3 separate regions of the Homo sapiens genome follow, and all the other regions are linked to region 2. Evidence: promoter capture Hi-C in 16 types of primary human blood cells and fetal thymus (Javierre and others, 2016). All regions are on one chromosome and are shown on one strand. Each heading gives the region's core, a stretch centred on a gene start or on the middle of the fragment in contact. The rest is flanking DNA. Distances are from core to core; before and after follow the strand shown.

Region 1 (3,304 bases), core at 181-2,680, 270 kb before region 2:
AGTTCAATGAGCACAAAAGCACATGTTCCTGTGGTGAATTCTTAACGTGTGTGAAGGGGAAGCAAAGGAGCTTTAGTAAAATTGCAGTTCAGGCTAAGTCAGGAATGGAAATGAGGAACAACCAGAAAACATCACAGTTTGTTTTAGAGCATTTAGTTCCTAACTCTCAATGACACACACTCAGGCTTATGGCTGAATTTCAGATTATCCTTGTATATACTTTTTAGAAGTTTTTATTTGGTATCATAATTTATAGTGTAACAATGAAAAGTCGCCTGGCTTTATAACAGATTTCAGAAAGTGAAACTTGGTTTCTGAGGAATAAACAGGCAGCAGAGCAATCCTCAAAGAGGAAGTGCATGAGAAACTGAGGGTTTAGGGAGATTATATTTGGTTAGAAACGCTGGGCCTTTGTTAAAAGTTGAAAAACCTGATCACTCCAGTCTTTGGAGGTTCTGAGGGAGAGCATGTCTTGCCAGAGTCTCACGGATGATTAGAGTTAATCCCGGCACCCAGGCCTCTTTACTTTTCCTCTGCAGTGTGGGTTCCCCTCCTGAGCTACCCGCTAGAGCCTAGTTTCCCAGGGTTTCTCTCTCTGGTCTGTTTTTGCAGCTCAAGCCATGTTCTCCTTGATCTGTTGGCCAGGCTTCAGGGGAGATGGACTACAGCTGGTCTGAAATAGGAAGACGGTAAATTTACTTAAACTTTCAGCATGACCCATTTGCCTAACTTTTTTTTCAATGTGATGAATGAAAATATAGACAACAGAATGTTTCACAAGACAGCCAACTCAAAGAGAATAAGAATGAGGACGTGTGCAATTTGCTTTTACCTTTAAAAAGAAGCATATTACAGAACCTCTTGATTGTCTTTCTTTTTTTTTTCTTTTTTTCTTTTTTTTACCTCTGTCATCTGTGATCCATTCGCCTGTTCAGCCAAGATATTTTGGCATTTTTACTCTGGGAAACCAGTGGGTGGGTGAACATGGAGGAGCCAAAAGTTAACAAAATACCAGCAAATGCTGGAGCCAAGTGAGAGGATTCTCCTCTGCTCCAGAAGCAGAGGTGTACCCCACCTCCCACTCTCCCAAGCTGCTTTGAAAAAGGCTGCTAAAACTCACCGACTTAAAAAAAATTTTTTAAAAGAAAAAAAACTCCCTGACTTGAGAGGATTTCTCAGTCCTGATGAAGGAAATCTCTAGCAGCTCTTCTTGTCCCTAGGCTATCAGGGCTTTTCCTTTCTGAGGATGCCCTAAGCACTGTAGGGAATAATAGCATTCGAAGGTAAGTTTATCTGGTCTGATGCCAGCATACATTGTTGAATCCAAATCTACCATTTACCATCGGGGTGACTTTCAATGAGTTCTTTAAACTTTCTGAGCCTGTTGTCTCATCTGTAATAGAGATAATAGTGCCTACCTCATCAAAAGTGTTAGAATTAAGTAAGATGATTTGTAACTTAGTACCAGACACCTCATTAATAATCAAATGTTTTTTGCAATACCACTCATTTTCTCACCAACTTCTATACAGCTTCCTGTTTTCCCAGTGATCGTGAGATATGGGAGGTAGTAGCTTGCTAACTTGTTTCCAGTGGCAGCAGGAGTGGCAAAGGAAATTACTTTTTTCCTTATCAACTTCAAAGGATAATTTACACACAGTGAACTATATCTGTGTACATTTAATGAGTCTCATAGGTGTCTGTCCGTACTCATGAAACAAGTACTACATTGAAGATGTAGAACATTGGCATCATCCCCAAAAGATTCCTCTTGCCCCTTTGCAGTCTTTCCCTTCCTTTGCCCTTAGCCCCAGGCAAGCACTCCTCTGTTCTTTGTCACTCTAAATTAGTTTGCATTTTATAGGAGTACAGTATGTACACTTTTTGTGCAGCTTATTTCACTCAGCATAGTGATTTCTGGATGTGTCCATGTTGTTGCATGTATCCATGTTATTGCTGAGTAGTATTCCATTGTGTGGATATACCACCTATTGATGGACATTGGGTTCTTTCTTGTTTCTGGCTCTTTTAAATAAAGCTGATATGAACATTCACTTGGAAATCTTTCTGTGGAGCATACATTTTCATTTCTCCCAGGTATACCCAGCAGTTGAATGGCTCAGTCATATGGTAGATACGTGTTAAACTTTTTGAGAAACTTCCAAACTGTATTGTTTTACTTTCCTATCAACAGTGTATGTGATTTCCAGTTGCTTTACAATCTCAGAAGCACTTAGTGTGATCAGCCTTTTTAATTTTAGTCATTCTAATGGGTTTATAGGTCATGGTATTCATTGTGGTTTTCATTTGTTTCCCTGATGTCTAGTGATGTTGAGCACCATGTGCCAACTGGCATTTTGTATACTATCTTCTTTTGTCTAGTATCTGTTCAAATCTTTTGCCCATTTAAAAAATTGTGTCATTTATCTTCTTACTGAGTTGTACAAGTTCCTTTTATGATCTGGATACCAGTTCTTTGTAAGATAGAAATATATTAAACATTTCCTTCAATCTGTGAAAACATGTGAATACAACTGATCCTTGAACAAAATGGGCTTGAACTGCATGGGTCCATTTATACTTGGATTCTTTTCAGTAAAAGTGACACTGAGTGTGCTTGCCTCTCCTGCCTCCCCTTCCTCCCCTTCTACCTCTTCTGCTTCTGTCACTGCTGAGACAGCAAGTCTAACCTCTTCTTTTCCTCTTTCTCCTCAGCCTACTCAATGTCAAGATGAAGATAAAGACCTTTATGATGATCCACTTCCACTTAATCAATACTAAATACATTTTAATCTTCCTTATGATTTTTTTCTCTATCTTTACTGTAAAAATGCAATATATAATATATAACATACTAAGTATGTGTTATTCCACTGTTTATAGTAGTTAAGTTTCAGGGGAGTCAAAAGTTGTACATGGATTTTTGACTGCATGGGAGGGAGCCATCCCCTAACCCCCATGTTGTTCAAGGTTCAACTGTATGTTCTCCCAGTTTGTGTCATGCCCTTTCCTTCTCTTAATTGTATCATTTGAGGAACAAAAGCTTTGAATTTTGATGAAGCTTAGTTTTCAGTTTTTCTTTTATGATTTATGCTTTTTGTTTACTTAAAGGTCACAAAGATTTTTCTCCTATGTTTTCTTGTAGGAGATGTTTTAGCTTTTACATTTAGGTCTATAATCCAGTTCAAGTTAATGTTTGTATATGGTGTGAAGCAAGGGTTAACATGGGGATTATCTTTTAGGTAAGTGTCTATTATGTATCAGGAACTTTATTTCTCAAGAAATAAATGTTCTAAGATAATTA
Region 2 (3,288 bases), core at 519-3,018:
GAGTCCATGACCAGCGCCAGAGTTTTGGGTCCACAGATAAAACGGGTCTCCTCTGTCTCTACCAGACAGGGAAAGGAACCGAAATTAAGGGAAGGGAGAGACTGAAGGGTGGTGCCGAAATTGAAAGGAGAAAGAGGTTGAGGGATAGTGAAAGAGGTTGAAGAAGAGAGTAGAAAGAGGCCACTTACCCGATTTAAAATTGGTGAGATGTTCCTTGGGCTGGTCTGAGGACCCGAGGTCGTAGGTAGATCTTCCTCACGGAGCAAAGAGCGGGAGGACAGGGGATTGATCTCCCAAGGAAGGTCCCCCGATCCAAGTCATAGCACCAAATGTCAAATGCATCCGTGTGAAGAGACCACCAACAGGCTTTGTGTGAGCAACAAGGCTGTTTATTCACTTGGGTGCAAGTGGGCTGAGTCCGAAAAGAGAATCAATGAAGGGAGATGGGGAAGGGGTTGCTTTATAGGATTTAGGTAGGTAATGGAAAATTACAGTAAAAGGTGGTTGTTATCTATTGTTAGCAGGGGAGGGGGTCACAAGGTACATGATGGGGAGATCATAAGACTTATTGTCCAGAAGAAGAATGTCACAAGGATGGTTGATCAGTTAAGGTAGGGCAGGGACCAGTCACAATGGTGGAATGTTTGTTAATCAGTTAAGGCAGGAAGTGGCTGTTTTACTTCTTTTGTGGGTTTTTGGCTGCCCCAGACTTCTTGGCTCCCGCAGGCCATCTGGACGCATATGTGCAAGTCACAGGGGTTACAATGGTTGAGCTTCGGCTGAGAGGCCTGACAGCAGAGACTGGAAAATTGCTTAACAGAATTATAAATTCCTTCTTTCATTACTCAAACCTTTTTTTTTTTCTTTTTGAGACGAAGTTTCGCTCTTGTTGACCAGGCTGGAATGCAATGGTGCGATCTCGGCTCACTGCAACCTCCACCTCCCAGGTTCAAGCGATTCTCCCCCCTCAGCTTCCCGAGCAGCCGATTATGCTGCCTCAGCCTTCCCAGTAGCTGGGACTACAGGCACCCGCCACCACGCCCAGCTAATTTTTTGTATTTTTCGTAGAGATGGGATTTCACCATGTTGGCCAAGCTGGTCTTGAACTCCTGAAGTGATCCGCTCACTTCAGCCTCCCAAAGTGATGGGATTACAGGCGTGAGTGACGGCGCCTGGCCTCATTACTCAAACCTTTAGGGAACACCTCCTCACTCAGCCATGTGTAACGACGTGAAGACCCAGAGGTGAAACATTTTAGGGTGCTGCCTCCGAATCTGAATTTCAACAATAGACTAAAACGATCCAGTCCTGGGCTTCTCTAAATTCTTTTGTTGCTGGCCAGACCTTAATTTTAGGCTTTGGAGGGAGTGTCTATGCGAATGAACGACTGAAAACTCAGAAAACGAAAACTAGCTTTTATGGAATTTCAATTAATTACGTTTATCAAAACTACGCATCATGCCCATTTGTGGGTATTGGATGAAAAGATAAATCTTTCCAGAAGGGGCAGGGGAGGGAGAGGCAATTCTGGTTGGGGAAGTTGGGAGAAAAGAAAATCAGTATCTCCTAGTCTTCGCCCAGTTTGGCTCGTTTGGGGTACTCCTCGACCCCGCGTTACCAGGCCCGTGAATCCCACTCCCACCAGAGAATTAGCGCGGGCGGACGAGCAAAGTGAAACTTAGTAGCCCGGAACTTCGCGTGCCGGGTTCCCGCAGCAACACGTACCGGGAAGCGTTTGGGCGCTGCACCGCGCTGCGCCGTGCCCGTGAGTCCGGCGCGCAGAGGAGGAGGAGAAAGCTGACCGCTTAGGCCGGGGTAGTGGTCGTCGTGGTTTTCCTTGTAGTTCGTGGTCTGAGACCAGGCCTCAAGTGGAAACGGCGTCACCATGATCGCACGGCGGAACCCAGAACCCTTACGGTTTCTGCCGGATGAGGCCCGGAGCCTGCCCCCGCCCAAGCTGACCGACCCGCGGCTCCTCTACATCGGCTTCTTGGGCTACTGCTCCGGCCTGATTGATAACCTAATCCGGCGGAGGCCGATCGCGACGGCTGGTGAGTGCTGCGCGGCCGGGATCGGCTGGGAGGAGAAGGGGTCGTAGGGCTGCAGACTGGCCCGGCCGTAGGCCCCCCTGAGGTGCTCTGCTTTTCCGTGCCTTTTTGCCTAGCTGGCCCCATCTCGCCTTTCCGGGGAGTCCGCGCCCCATTAGCTCTTTAGAATCAAGCAGAGCCAGAGTGTCATTTGGCACTTGAAGAAACTGAGGTGCAGTGAAGCAGGAACTGAGTCTGTGAAGGACCCGAAACTACTCTCCTCAGTTCGTGTTGTGCTGTGTGCGCAAATGAGCCATGACTCCATGCCATGCACTACTCACACTGTGGGCATTATTGATAGCATTTCGGCCTTAAAACACTTTTAGGGATGTATTATTCACAACGAGGAAACCGAGCCTAACAGATTAACAGCAGCTTGCCCAAGGTCATATGGCTATTAAGTAGCAGAGCTTGGTTTTTTTTTTTTTTGACCTCTGAATGGATATTGGACACCAGTGCTTCTCAAACTTAATGTGCATACGAATAGCATAGGTGTCTTGTTAAAATTCGGATTCTGGGCTGCGCGAGGTGGCTCACACCTGTAATCCCAGCGCCTTGGGAGGCCGTGGCGGGCGGATCGCCTGAGCTCAGGAATTCGATACCAGTATGGGCAATAGGGCGAAAACCCGTCCCTACAAAAAAATACAAAAGTTAGCCGGGCGTGGTGGTGCACGCCTGTGGTCCCAGGCTGAGGGAGGCTGAGGCAGGAGGGTCGTTTGAGCCTGGAAGGCAGAGGTTGCAGTAAGCCGAGATTGCACCATTGCACTCCAACCTGTGCAACAAAGTGAGACCCTGTCTCAAAAAAAAAAAAAAAGCGGATCCTGATTCATGAGGTCTGGGGAGGAACTTGATGTTAACAACAAGCGCTCAAACACTGCTGCTGCTGGTCTGAGGACCACGGTTTGAATAGGAGGCTCTAAACCAGTGTGCTGTACTTCCCAGTAGTATGTCACTGGCTTCCTATCAGAGACACTGACTATTCTGATAATAACCACCACAGTAGCTTTGCTAAGCTCTATGGATTTCCAGAGGGAAAAGAGGAGAGGAACTTTGGAAGAGGGGTCTTTGAAGTTAACTTTGATTATCAGGCAGGACTGAGAGACAGACAGCTTTCTAGGCCCGTGGGGCTAGTGGGAGCTAATGGGGGCAAGGACCTCTGAATGGAGGGTGTTTGATGATTGAGTGAGTGTTCAGGTTTAGA
Region 3 (3,386 bases), core at 260-2,759, 270 kb after region 2:
AGACTGATTTTTTTTTTTTTTTTTTTTTGAGATGGAGCTCTGTCACCCAGGCTAGAGTGTAGTAGTGCGATCCCAGCTCACTGCAACCTCTGCCTCCTGGGTTCAAGTGATTCTCCTGCTTCAGCCTCCTGAGTAGCTGGGACTACAGGTGCCCGCCACCACGCCCAGCTAATTTTTTTGCATTCTTAGTAGAGATGGGGTTTCGCCATGTTGGCCAGGCTGGTCTCAAAAACTCCTGACCTCAAGTGATCTGCCTGCCCCGGCCTCCCAAAGTGCTGGGATTACAGGCATGAGCCACCACATCCAGCCCAAACTGATTTTAAGAAAGAAGAGCATGAGGGCAAAACTTGACAGCAGACAGACCAGGCTTCAGCCTCCTGTAGTTGAACAAGGATTGCTTGAAGAGCAACATGAAGTATATAATGTATATATGGCTCATGTAAGCAAGAGTTCCTCCAGAAAGCTTTCGTAGTGGAGGTTGAGTCTGTATTTAATTTTAGACTCTAAGCTTTATTCTCCAGTATTTGTACATGTTTATCTTAATCATTTTCTGAATAGTAGGATTATACAGTTTTTTCCCTTTGGTTTTTCTTATATTTTTTCACATTTCATTTTCTATGTTAATTGTGCATTTCTTTGATAATCACCAAAAAACTATTTAAAACTAGATTTCTAAAGAGGCTTTTTAAAAGGAAAATTGAATTTCTGCTTGTATTTATGTACTCTTATTTTTATAGACAGGGTCTCACTCTGTCACCCAGGCTGGAGTGCAGTGGCTTGTTCTCTGCTGACTGCAACCTCTACCTCCCAGACTCAGGCGATCCTCCCATTTCAGCCTCTCAAGTTGCTGGGGACTACAGGCATGTGCCACCACACCCAGCTAAAAATTTTTTGTATTTTTAGTAGAGACAGAGTTTCATTATGTTGCCCAGGCTGGTCTCAAACTCCTGGGCTCAAGCAATCCACCTGACTCAGCCTCCCCAAGTGCTGGGATTACAGGCGTGAGCCACCAAGCTCAGCCTATTTATTTATTCTTAATCTTGAATTACCTCTTAAATGAATGTTACTATCATCTACCCAAGTCACTCAGATCAGAAACCAAGGAGGCATCCTAGACCTTAGCCTCTGACACTTTCTTTGATACCAAGTTATATTGAGTCTGTTTATCCCCTTTTATATTCAACCTTGCTTTTCTGTTCTCATTGCTAGTTTTAATCACGCCAAACTGCTTTTACATCTCTGAAGATGTGAAAGGTTGTTTTACATTTATGCTTTTTCTTCGTCCTCCTGCCTCTGAGTCGAATATACCATCCCCATCTTCCTTCCCTTGCCTGCTCACTGTACCCGTCATTAGTCTGCTCTTTAAGCATCAAATGCTCTGTGGAAAATTTCCTTCTTTCTGTCTCTCAAGTTAAATTAACCACTTCAATCTCCTTACCCTGCACGTACACTTTGTAGATTTTATGCCACAGTACTCATAACACTTTTTGCAGTTACTGCCTAGCCTACAAGATGGTAAACTCTTTGAGGACAGGGTTTCTTACTTTATTTTATCACCAGCAATTGGTGGGTAATAGCAAATATGTAGTAAATGTTTGTGGAATTAATAGTTTTCCTCAACTTACTATAGGACCATGTTCTGCTCTAAAACTTTGAAGTTAAAGCCTAGTCTGTGATAGCTTAGTACAGTGGTGGGCAATCTACAGCCTGTCCTCTCTATCTTTGTAAATAAGGTTTTACTGGTATACAGCCATGTTCATTTGTTTACATTCTGTTGTCTGTAGCTGCTTTCACACAACTGTGGCAGAGTTGAGTGATGGTCACAGAGAACATATAACTTCAAAACCTAAAGTATTGGGCTGGGTATGGTGGCTCATACTGCAATCCAAGCACTTTCGGAGGATTGTCTGAGTCCCAGAGGTTGAGGCTGATCATGCCACTGCACTCCAGCCTGGGTGAAACAGCAAGACCCTGTCTCAGAAAAAAACAAAACCCAAAACCTGAAGAACTTATTATCTGTCTAGCCCTTTACAGAAAAAAATTTACTGATCTTTATTCCAGTGTATGAAGATGGAAGTCTTATCAGATGATGATCTCTGTTTTTGAAAATACATTTAGAACCAGTATAATACAAATTTCCAGCCTCGCCAACATGGTGAAACCTGGTCTCTATTAAAAATACAAATTAGTTGGATGTGGTGGGATACACCTGTAATCCCAGCTACCTAGGAGGCTGCCACACAACAATTGCTTGAACCCAGGAGGCAGAGATTACAGTGAGCCATGATTATGCCATTGCACTCCAATCTGGGCAACAGAGGGAGACTCCACCCATCTCCCCCCCAAAAAATAAAAATAAAAAGGAACCAATATAATACAAATTAAATGCCTAGAATGTCCTGTGAATGAAACTTAGTGGAACAGTAGTCTCCCCAGTATTGATCTAATTTTACATCCAACTGTTTTAGTATTAATTACTCCTCTTGGGTTAGGTGAGTCTAAAAGCTTTTTTGTTAACAAGGTGATGACATTATATTGAACTAAATTTCTTTCATTCAAGAGTAGCCATGGCTACCTCTGCCTAATTGTCATAAGGCAATGCCAGGATGGGAGCCATGTGACATGGTAATTGGTAGTGAGGGTAAGAGTTGTTGTAACATTGCTGCTATACTGGCCTCAAAGTCTTATCCAAGTGGACTGATTAGGGGAGGGTAAGGTTGGATGAATGGTGATGCCGTGTACTCAGATGGGAAAGGATGTAGTTATTAAAGGTAGAACTTAAAAGATTTACTTAGGTTACTTAGAGGACACAGGACTGGGAAAGAATGTACTAGATAATAGCTTACTAGTAAGTGGGATTAAATGCCTTGGTCATCAGTGTATTTTGCAGCAAAAGTGCAGTACTGGTTATGAAGCTTAGGCATGTGTTATGCTAGATATCTCAGGGAGTTTGATACTTACTCTTTTCCTTTTGTCCTTAGCATCTTCACAGTTGGCTCTGCAAATAAATATAATTGCCACTTCTTCAATGTTTAGATGTTAAAAGTGTTTTAGGAAAAGAAAATTAGGTAGAATGAGTTATTCCAAATAATCCATTCTAACTTGCTTTTGGTATTTGGAGTTTGGGGATATAGCAATATGGTAATATTGGAAAACTTTGATTAATCAGAAGTATAATGGAGCTTACTTTATATTCCCATTAAAGTCTTGCCAACCTCCAGTTTATCAGAACCATAAATAAACCATCTACAGCAGCACTAACTTGGTCTGGCATCTGAATTCAGACATTCCATAATCCTCATTTTAGAGGTTTTTTGTCCTATGAATTTTGACTGTGGTCAACTGGTTTCTCCTTGCTATCTTTTTGCCTCATGGCCTTTTCATTT

Evidence for each region. Contacts are between HindIII fragments. The CHiCAGO score rates a contact against its expected background, and 5 or more counts as called.
Region 1: a contact is called between a fragment that was not itself captured here and the fragment with the promoter of NDUFC2 in region 2, in 3 of 17 cell types (M2 macrophages, non-activated CD4 T cells and naive CD8 T cells). The highest score is 5.9, in M2 macrophages.
Region 3: a fragment that was not itself captured here is called in contact with the fragment with the promoter of NDUFC2 in region 2 in 1 of 17 cell types (total CD8 T cells); the score reaches 5.5 in total CD8 T cells.

The regions. Positions count from the first base shown.
Region 1 is chr11:78,347,520-78,350,823 of GRCh38, reverse strand. The region is part of intron 1 of GAB2 (GRB2 associated binding protein 2); the gene reads left to right. Among named protein-coding and RNA genes, the nearest start is that of GAB2, 69 kb to the left of the region's middle. The HindIII fragment of the contact is 3,231 bases long and covers 1-3,045 here.
Region 2 is chr11:78,078,342-78,081,629 of GRCh38, reverse strand. It overlaps NDUFC2 (NADH:ubiquinone oxidoreductase subunit C2), which reads left to right and starts at 1,768. Exons shown (of 3, transcript NM_004549.6): 1 at 1,768-2,051. The coding sequence starts at 1,886. It overlaps NDUFC2-KCTD14 (NDUFC2-KCTD14 readthrough), which reads left to right and starts at 1,768. Exons shown (of 3, transcript NM_001203262.2): 1 at 1,768-2,051. The coding sequence starts at 1,886. It overlaps LOC105369401 (a long non-coding RNA gene), which reads right to left and starts at 435. Exons shown (of 3, transcript XR_950342.2): 1 at 189-435. RefSeq lists a silencer at 1,596-1,785 and an enhancer at 1,989-2,048. The HindIII fragment of the contact is 4,740 bases long and covers 1-3,288 here.
Region 3 is chr11:77,809,527-77,812,912 of GRCh38, reverse strand. All of the region lies in intron 1 of RSF1 (remodeling and spacing factor 1), which reads left to right. Among named protein-coding and RNA genes, the nearest start is that of RSF1, 9.5 kb to the left of the region's middle. The HindIII fragment of the contact is 1,997 bases long and covers 511-2,507 here.